Linked DNA regions of Homo sapiens: region 1 is linked to region 2. Evidence: promoter capture Hi-C in 16 types of primary human blood cells and fetal thymus (Javierre and others, 2016). All regions are on one chromosome and are shown on one strand. The core of a region is centred on a gene start or on the middle of the fragment in contact, and the rest is flanking DNA. Distances in the headings are between cores, read along the strand shown. Region 1 overlaps CLASP2 (cytoplasmic linker associated protein 2). Region 2 holds the start of CLASP2 (cytoplasmic linker associated protein 2).

Evidence for each region. Contacts are between HindIII fragments. The CHiCAGO score rates a contact against its expected background, and 5 or more counts as called.
Region 1: a contact is called between a fragment that was not itself captured here and the fragment with the promoter of CLASP2 in region 2, in 3 of 17 cell types (monocytes, M2 macrophages and naive CD8 T cells). The highest score is 5.8, in monocytes.

The regions. Positions count from the first base shown.
Region 1 is chr3:33,658,773-33,663,159 of GRCh38, reverse strand. The region is part of intron 7 of CLASP2 (cytoplasmic linker associated protein 2); the gene reads left to right. Among named protein-coding and RNA genes, the nearest start is that of CLASP2, 57 kb to the left of the region's middle. RefSeq lists an enhancer at 3,744-3,793. The HindIII fragment of the contact is 1,973 bases long and covers 1,506-3,478 here.
Region 2 is chr3:33,716,465-33,720,979 of GRCh38, reverse strand. It overlaps CLASP2 (cytoplasmic linker associated protein 2), which reads left to right and starts at 2,726. Exons shown (of 39, transcript NM_001365631.1): 1 at 2,726-3,172. The coding sequence starts at 2,978. RefSeq lists an enhancer at 2,365-2,454 and a silencer at 2,655-2,994. The HindIII fragment of the contact is 12,344 bases long and covers 1-4,515 here.

The sequences.
Region 1 (4,387 bases), core at 1,243-3,742, 58 kb after region 2:
GTATGATGACCTTCTTGCCCTCCATTTTCCATGCATACAATGTGTTTTTATACCTAGAATAATTGTTTTACTTAGTTGTCTTTAATAGAAATTGTGGGGTTGATGGGTTCTATTATATCTGTGTACAGACTATAATAGATCAAGAGACTATAACTGATCAAGAGACTCATACACAGGAACTTCACTAGCATAATCACCTCAGGCTTAAGTAGAATGAGACCAAGTTGGAATTCAGGGAGGTCTGGAGTTAATATCTGGTATTGATTTGATTTTTGTGGTTCCTCTCCTTTTTGTAAAGTTGATAAATTATGTTTAGCTTTGTTGGGTAGCATTTACCTACACTTGAGACTTTAAATATTAATTAGCCATATATGTAAAGAATATATTCTATTTCCAAAGATAATATAGGTTGCTTTTCCACCTAGTAAAGTAGTTTCATATTAAAGAGAGTGTGGTTAGTTTAGTAATATAAATGATGTTGGAGTAAAAATTTGGTGTGTGAATTTACAGTCAAATAATTGGAAAACTAGTTACTAATATAATTTAGTTACTGTTCTTTGGGTTAAACCAAGACTGAGGATGTGTTGCGGGAAGTCAGATGGAGTAAGTGAGTGTTAGAAAGATTGTGTTTACCCACATCTAAACTTAGTTCCAGAAGCATAAATTGACTTCAGTGCTACCAGTCCTCACCTTGAATGCCAGAAGATTCTCACTTCACTTCTCTGAATAGAAAGTGTTTTAAGTATCTTCTCCTTATTTTTCTAGCAGTTACCTCTGTCAATTTCTGTAGAAACCAGAAACAGTAGGAAGAGATTTGACAAGATGCTTGAACTTGTGTGTTTTCATAACATGATCGTTTGTGTATTTCAGACTAAGTTAGTTACAACTCTAAGGAAAAAAGTAGAATACCTATAAAATCTAAGGTATTCATTGCTTGGGTATGGTTTATTTCGAAAGCACTGTTATTCTTGTATTTTGTGACATTATTTCTGTTACCTTCAAAATAGAGCTTTTTTGTTTCTTTAGTTCCCATTACTTTTTCTCTTGTTTATCACTCCATAAACAGGGAGGTTCGGAGTTAGTCTCTGGCATTTATTTTTTTTGAAGAAGACTTCAAAGATTGTTTGCATTGATGATTACAGTCTGAATATTGCAAGTATGGTCAAATGTGAAAGTTAAAGTCATATTGGTCATAATGTTTTTGATGATAATATGCTGTCACTGAAAAATTCCTTAATGAATTAATTAACAAGAGGATGCTAGAAGAAGGAAACCTATTTATCACGTTGGAAAATCCCAGGGCCCAGGCCTCCTCTTCCCTGTTTTTATTCTCTCTTTCTTAGTGATCCAACCCCACTCAAAGGCTTTAAATGATAACTCTTTGCTAATGATTCCCAGTATGTAGGTCTAGCCATCATTCATCTCTCCTTTGGGTTAGGTCTAGACTTGTTAGCCTGTGGCCTTGATGACGTTCCCATTTGGCTGCCTAATAGGCATTTCAAGCTTCCTATGTCCAAAAATGAAACCCTGTTATCTTTTCTTGCCTCTCAGATCTGTTCCTTCTCCAGTCTTAGCCATTTTAGTCAGTGGCACCATCATCAGCTCAAGCTAGAAACCTGACTTGATTTCCTATTCTAACTGATCAAACATTTCTACTTCTGAAATACTAACATATCCCAAATTTGCTTATTTTTTCCATCTCCACTGCTAATATCCTCTCTAAATCTCCTTTAGCTTTTGCCTGGACTACTTCTGTAGACTTCTGTTCCATGTTTGCCCCCAGGAATCCATTTGCTACTCAGAAATCATAGGGATCTTCTTAAAATGTAAATTAGATCATGTCACAACAGGAAGAAGATAATGAAATTTCTCCCCTTAAGGAGCCTATAATCTAGTGATGGAGATAGATCATAAACAAGTAAATAAATGGATATACAATGTGGTTACAGTTGGTAATGGAGGAAATATAACTACTCCTTGTTTAATGAGTTTAAATTATTCCTAAATACCCTGCTGCCAAGTGAAAGACCATTAGATGAAAAAATTATTTTCACCAGTGTTAATGAGAAAAATTACGGTGTGTTTCATCCCAGCCCATGATACTTGAGTAGTTTTCCCAGGTAGAAAAATATATCAATTGAATACTGAAAACAAATTTTTATAAGTAACAATTTGAAGGGAAATTGTACATGAAGTAATATCATGGAGTTTAATTCAACTTCTTCTTTATTTCTGCACAATTTTTCCCCACAAAATTTTCAGGCCTTTGTTGATTCATTTTTATTGCACACTAAAACTAAAACTAAAACTGTAAATAAAGTGATAGAAACAGGAAAACATTTTAGGACAGAGTAAAGGCTCGGCATGAAATCTTGTGGAAATAGTTCATGCACACAAAGAGCTGTTGAAGATACTACCTTTTCTCTCCCTCACTTGGTGCATTTATGCAAAATAAATTGTTTTGGGTCTGTCCAAAAATGGCACGCAATTCAAATTTGTTCCACCTGATATTCTGTGACCAGAAACTATTATGGTAAACAAAATTTTTTGGTGTGTCTTTGCCTGAAACCATAATAATGACACATCATACATCTTACAGCATATTGATTTAGAGTGTTTCGTGATGAAAAAAATCATTTTACTAAATACAAGAAACCAAAGGATTTGTTGTAAAGGTGATATAACTTTTTTATAGCTAAAAGTTGTCATCTGAACAGTCATTAAGTGAGTTATAGAGTATTTGATGGTTTTTTGAACTCAACTTGTTATATTGTAAAAGTAAGTTAGGCAGAGTCCCTAAATGCAGTAGAATTAGCTCTGCTGTTAGAAGAAAACTGGATTTAAAATCTGTCAGATCGTGACTAGAAGGAGGGAACACCAGCCCTGTAGGAAAGAAAAGACTGAAAGTTGGAGACCCCCTGCGATTATGGCAGGCGCTGGTGTCGTTATGGAGCTTTCTAGACAGTCTCCTGCACAAACCAAGGATGTAAACACTAACAGTGTTGGTGGCTGTAATTGCAAATCCTTTTCTCTTTCACTGTGAAAAAAACTATGCATAATTCTTATTTGTCGAGTGTGTGTTTAGGACCTAATGCAGTCTTGGCCATGCAATCATTAGTAAAGTATTTTCTGGCTTCTCTGTTTGAAACAGTTGCTAGGAAAAGAATTGTTCTTGGAGGCTGGCAATAAAATAAAACCTGGAAATGAGGCTTTGAAATTACCTTAATATTTGGCTTCTATGAGTCAATAAGATAACTTCCAGTCTAGTTTTGTATATTTTTATAACATACCCTTTGGTGAAAAGCAAAGCAGCTCTTTTCTTTGGTTGATTTTTAAAATGTATCTGTTTGTGATCATGAGCTCCAGGGCCTGCCTTCAGAGCTTGACAATGTGCTGATGGTTGTCAGCTTGGATAGAGGGTGCTCTGCGCCCCTGCAGCTGCGCATTGGCTAGGTTCTGTCTCCACCAGAAGTAAGCTTTGTTCCGTGTGGCCCTGCTGTCCGCGCACAGAGCAGCCTTTGATGGGCTGCCTTTGACGTGATTTGTTTACGGCAGCCAGAAATGCTTCCTGCATAATGAGAGCAGTTAATCATGGAAACTGGGCTATTCCTGTTTATGCACTTCTAGCAATCTTCTGTTGTAAATATTAAAAGGTAACGACAAAAGGATGAAAACCTTTTTAAAAAGGCGCAAATCAGTTAATCCATCAGATCATGTGATTGCTACTGATTACATGGATATCTTTAGGGAAGCAGAAAATGATTGCTGAACACATGCCTTGTGTTTTGATGATTGCATTAAAAGTCCCCCAGCGGGATGGCATTTATTGGCTCTCAGAGCTTTTCTTAGATTAAATTTCAGGCAGCCAGTACAAGGAGAAACATCATAACCTGTATCCAACAGCATATGTGCAGCTAAAGAGTAATCTTAATCAAGTCCTTCTAGGCTGTGCTAAATAAACGAGGGTTTTCAGCAAGACCCCAGACTTTTATTTTGAAGTGGAGTAGCAGCTGTTGGCTATTGCGGTGCAGAGCTGCAGCGAGGCCTGGGTCACACAGTGCTCCGGGTGTCTGCAGGCTGCAGGCCGAGCCCAGTGGCGCAGGCACTGAGCTGTACTTATTTGCTGTGCTATTTGACCTCTTGGTTTCAGAGAGCTCCCTGGACCATCTAATGGCTATGGGAGATGGTGAGTAAGATTTATTTTTCTTCTTTTGCTTGTGTTATACACTTCCTTTTAAGGTGACGATCATTTGCTGTGTAAGAAATATATTTCTCCCTAAAGAATGAAGGACACTTGTGTGTTTATGCATGTGTGTACACTTGTGTGTACATTTATGCATGTGTGTGCATGTCATTTGACATCTTTTTTCACTTGATGTGTCTGTGT
Region 2 (4,515 bases), core at 1,477-3,976:
TGTAATACCACCACTTTGGGAGGCCAAAGTGTGAGGATTGCTTGAGGCCAGGAGTTCGAGAATAATCTGGGCAACACAATGAAACTTCATCTCTACTAAAAATAAAACACAATAAATGATAATTAATAATAATTTTACAGGTTCTTCCAGAGTTACTCCTAAAGATGATTTAGTTAACTTATAACTTAAAAATGACCTAGTGTGATTTTCAATTTACATTAAGTTCAGAAAGGGAATAGAGACAACCAAGGGTGAAGAGCAGCAGTCACCTTTGGTCACAGGAACAGGTAGAGCTGAACCTAGAATCCAGGGCTCCTGCATTTTTTTTTTTCTATACCACATACTGCACCTGGTCACCAGCAATTACAGTGTAAAGTTCTTCTGGATAGGATCCTCTTTTTATATCTTTCTGCAACCCTTTAAGAACAGAACCTTTGGACACTCAAACCCAAGGAATAGTTACCATAATGTATTAGTCAGGGTTCTCCAGAGAAACAGAACCGGTAGATAGATATGTGGAGAATCATTTTTTTTAATTTTTTAATTTTTTTTTTGAGACAGGGTCTTGCTCTGTCACCCAGGCTGGAGTGAAGTGGCACAAACACAGCTCACTGCAGCCTCGACCTCCTGGGCTCAAGTGATCCTCTTGCCTCAGCCTCCCATGTAGCTGGGACCACAGGTGTGCACCACCATGCTTGGCTAATTTATTGATTTTATTTTTGGAGAGACAAGGTCTCACTTTGTTGCCCAGGCTGGTCTTGAACTCCTGGGCTTAAGCGATCCTTCCACCTCAGTCTCCCAAAGTGCCGGGATTACAAGTGTGAACCACTGCACTTGGCCTAATGAGAGGATAATTATTATAGGAATTGGCTCACACGGTTAAGGGAGGCAAGAAGTCTCATGTCTGCTGTTTGCAAGCTGGAGAACCAGGAAACCTGGTGGTGTAATACAGTCCTAGTCTGGAGGCCTGAGAATTGGAGGACTGATGATATAAGTTTCTGTCTGAATACTAAAGTTTGAGAACCAGGAGCACCCATCTTTGAGAGCAGGAAAAGATGGATGTTTCCGATCGAGCAGAGAGAGTGAATTTGGCCTTTCTCCACACTTGTGTTCTGTTCAGGCCTCAACGAATTGGATGATGTCCACTGACATTGGGAAGGGCCATCTGCTTTACTCAGCTCACCAATTCAAATGATAATCTCTTCCATAAACTCTCTCACAGACACACTCAGAAATAATGTTTTGCCAGCTATTTGGGCATCTCTTGCCCCAGTCAAGTTGACACATAAAATTAACCATCACACATAGTTTACTTGATTGAGGCATAGTCTGAGGGAAATTACAACCAATTAAAGATGGAAGAAACTTTACAAACTCAATACAATGTGAAACACAGAAATACTGAAAAAAGAACACAGAAAACAGTCAATTTCTTTGAATTTTGAGTTTGTTTATTCTTAGTTATTGTGAATATTTCAAATATCAATTTTTGTTGAATTCATTCACTCATTTAACTTAAATTGGCCACCCATTATTTGCTAGGCACCACCCTAGGAAAACACAAAGGTTCCTGGAGCTTTCTGTGTATTAGAAGAGAAAGATATTACATAAATAATCATTTTGTTGTGATTGGGAATAATTGTCAAGAAGATAAACACAGTGTGCTTTTGGAATGTATTAGACAACTTTACCCCCACCAGAATGGCTAAAACTAATAACCCTGACCATATCAAATATTGTGGAGCAACTGGAACTCTCAAGCATTGCTGGTGGGGATTTAATATGATCCAGTCACTTTGGTAAACAATTTGGCAGGTTCTTCTAAAGTTAAACATACAACTTACAAGACCTAGTAATGCCAGTCCTTGGTATTTATTTACCCATGAGAGAAGAAAATATATCCACACAAAAACTTGTGCACTAACCGTTGTAGCAGCTTTATTCATAATTATAAAAAATAGGAAACAACCCAAATATCTACCAACAAGTGAATGGATCGACAAATGGTAGTGATTCCACAGAATGGAAAGCAATAAAAAGGAATGGACTTCTGAGACACCAACAGCGCTGGATGGACCCCAAACGTTATGCTAAAAGAAACCAGACTCCAAAGAAGCACAGACTGTATGAAGTTCAGGAACAGGGAAAACTATGTTACCATGCTAGAAATCAAATTAGAATTGCCTAGGGAAGAGCAGATAATTGGGAAGTGTCCTGGGACTTCCTGGGGTGTTGGAAACGTGCTGTACCCTCACTGGGGTGGCGGTTCCACGGGTGAATACATTTGCCGAAACTCATGAAGTGTACGCTGAAAATCTGTGCGTTTTACTTTAGGCAAACCTAAGTTTTGTTTTGTTTTGTTTTTTTAAGTATTACACAGTGACTGTGGTGGTGGCTGGAAGCAGAAGTCAGGAGTGTATTCTTTTTTTTTTTTTTTTTTAAACCGGCAGTGGGGGCGGGAAAGGGGGATGCCAAGTACTTTCCTAAGTGTTGAATACAAGTGGAGGCAAACTTGGAAACGTTCCACATTTCACAGGGCGAGGGCAGGGTGCCCTGACAGCGGCTAGCAAAGAACGGCCCGCCTCCCAGGGGGCTCGGCCCAACTCGGACCCCAAGTCTCCCTAGAGGTCCTATCGCTCCCAGCGGTTTCCGCAGCCACCTCCACCACCTCCGCAGCAAAACGCTAGCCGGACTGGAGGGCCCTCGCCGGCGTCGTGCTGACGTCACGCGCGTGCTGACGTCGCCCGCGGCCGCGGCCTCTGAAGCGGGCTGGGGATCGGGGGGCGCCGAGTTTGACTAGTTTGGGGGCGGCTGGGCGCTTGGCGTTCCTCCCGCCGCCCGCTGCGCCCCGCAAGCCGCGCCCCTGGCGGGCTAAGTGAGTCCCGCCCGCTCCCGCGGGGACCCGCACTGGAGGCTGGGCGGCTCTCGGCGAAAGTTGGCCGCTCACAGACTGGCAGGCGGGCGGGCGGCCGCAGCCATGGAGCCCCGCAGCATGGAGTACTTCTGCGCCCAGGTGCAGCAGAAGGACGTCGGCGGCCGGCTGCAGGTCGGCCAGGAGCTCCTGCTCTACCTTGGCGCCCCCGGCGCCATCTCGGACCTGGAGGAGGACCTGGGCCGCCTAGGCAAGACAGTCGACGCGCTCACCGGCTGGGTGGGTTCGAGCAACTACCGGGTAAGCGACGGCGGCGAGGCTGGGCTGGTCACGCCCTCCGCGGCAGCCCTTTAATCCCGGACGCGAGCGCCGGGCCGGGAAAGCTCCCGTCCGAACCACTGCTTAAGAGGGGAAACACACTTTGGGAAGCACAGGCGGGCGGATCACGAGGTCAGGAGTTCGAGACCAGCCTGACCAACATGGTGCAACCCCGTCTCTACTAAAAATACAAAAATTAGCCGGGCGTGGTGGCGGGCGCCTGTAATCCCAGCTACCCAGGAGGCTGAGGCAGGAGAATCGCTTGAATCTAGCAGGCAGAGGTTGCAGTGAGCCGAGATCGAGCCACTGCACTCCAGCCTGGGCGACAGAGTGAGACTCTGTCTCAAAAAAAGTAAAAAATAAATAAAAATAGGGGAAACAGGGGGGTCCCGCGTCCCCACTGGGCAGACCGCCTCTTCGTACGCGAGCCGAGGACTGACTTGTGACCACATTTTTCTACACTTGTGGACAATGACAAATTCAGCGATTCCGTGACACGTTGCGGAGTTACTAGGACACAATGTTGATCACTTATTTTGAAAAAAAAATCAGTGAAAGACTTCGACATTTGTGTTCACCTGTGTAAACACTACCCAGACCAACAGATAGGACATTAGGATACGATTTTAGGTTGATGTGTCTTAGTAGATAGGCTAATGCTGGGGGGGAAAAAGTTACAAAGATGAGGTGCGAGAAAGAATGAGCCTTTCTGAAGAGTTGGTGGTAGGCAGGGTGTAATGTAGCCGCGTTGGGAGGCCAGGTAAATATTTTGTATTTAACTTGCCCCGTAGTCGTTAGTAGTTACTTTTCTTTCTTGTCTTCTGGTGGCAGTGTTGCTTTAAAATGCTGACTGCAGCTTCCCATGGATGAAGTGATTCTTCTTAGTAACATATTCTCATGATCCAGCGAATAGGCTGTACTTTGAAACCTTTTATTCAAAAAGAGAAGAAAGACAAACTCTAGAATTATGACGCAGATTTAATGGTAAAGCCCAGATGAGTTTTGGAAAGGTTAGACTTTTTACAAGGACAATAAAGTTTGAGAGTTACCCACGTCGATGCTTCATTACATACCATCTCTTGATTATTATTTTTAAAACGTTTGGGGAAAAGGTAATTTAATAATATATCATTACCATTTGGGAGATTATTTCTTTGGAAGAAACAAGCTAAATTTACTCTGTAAGAAAGGCATATACATATTCACACTCAAGATAGTTGATTTTATGCTACAGCATAGACTGTTGTAGAAAGACAGCGCTTTGGTAATGTTTGCACCCCTTCCGAAGTTAAGATTGGTGTGCCATCTTCTACACGGGCTGTTGT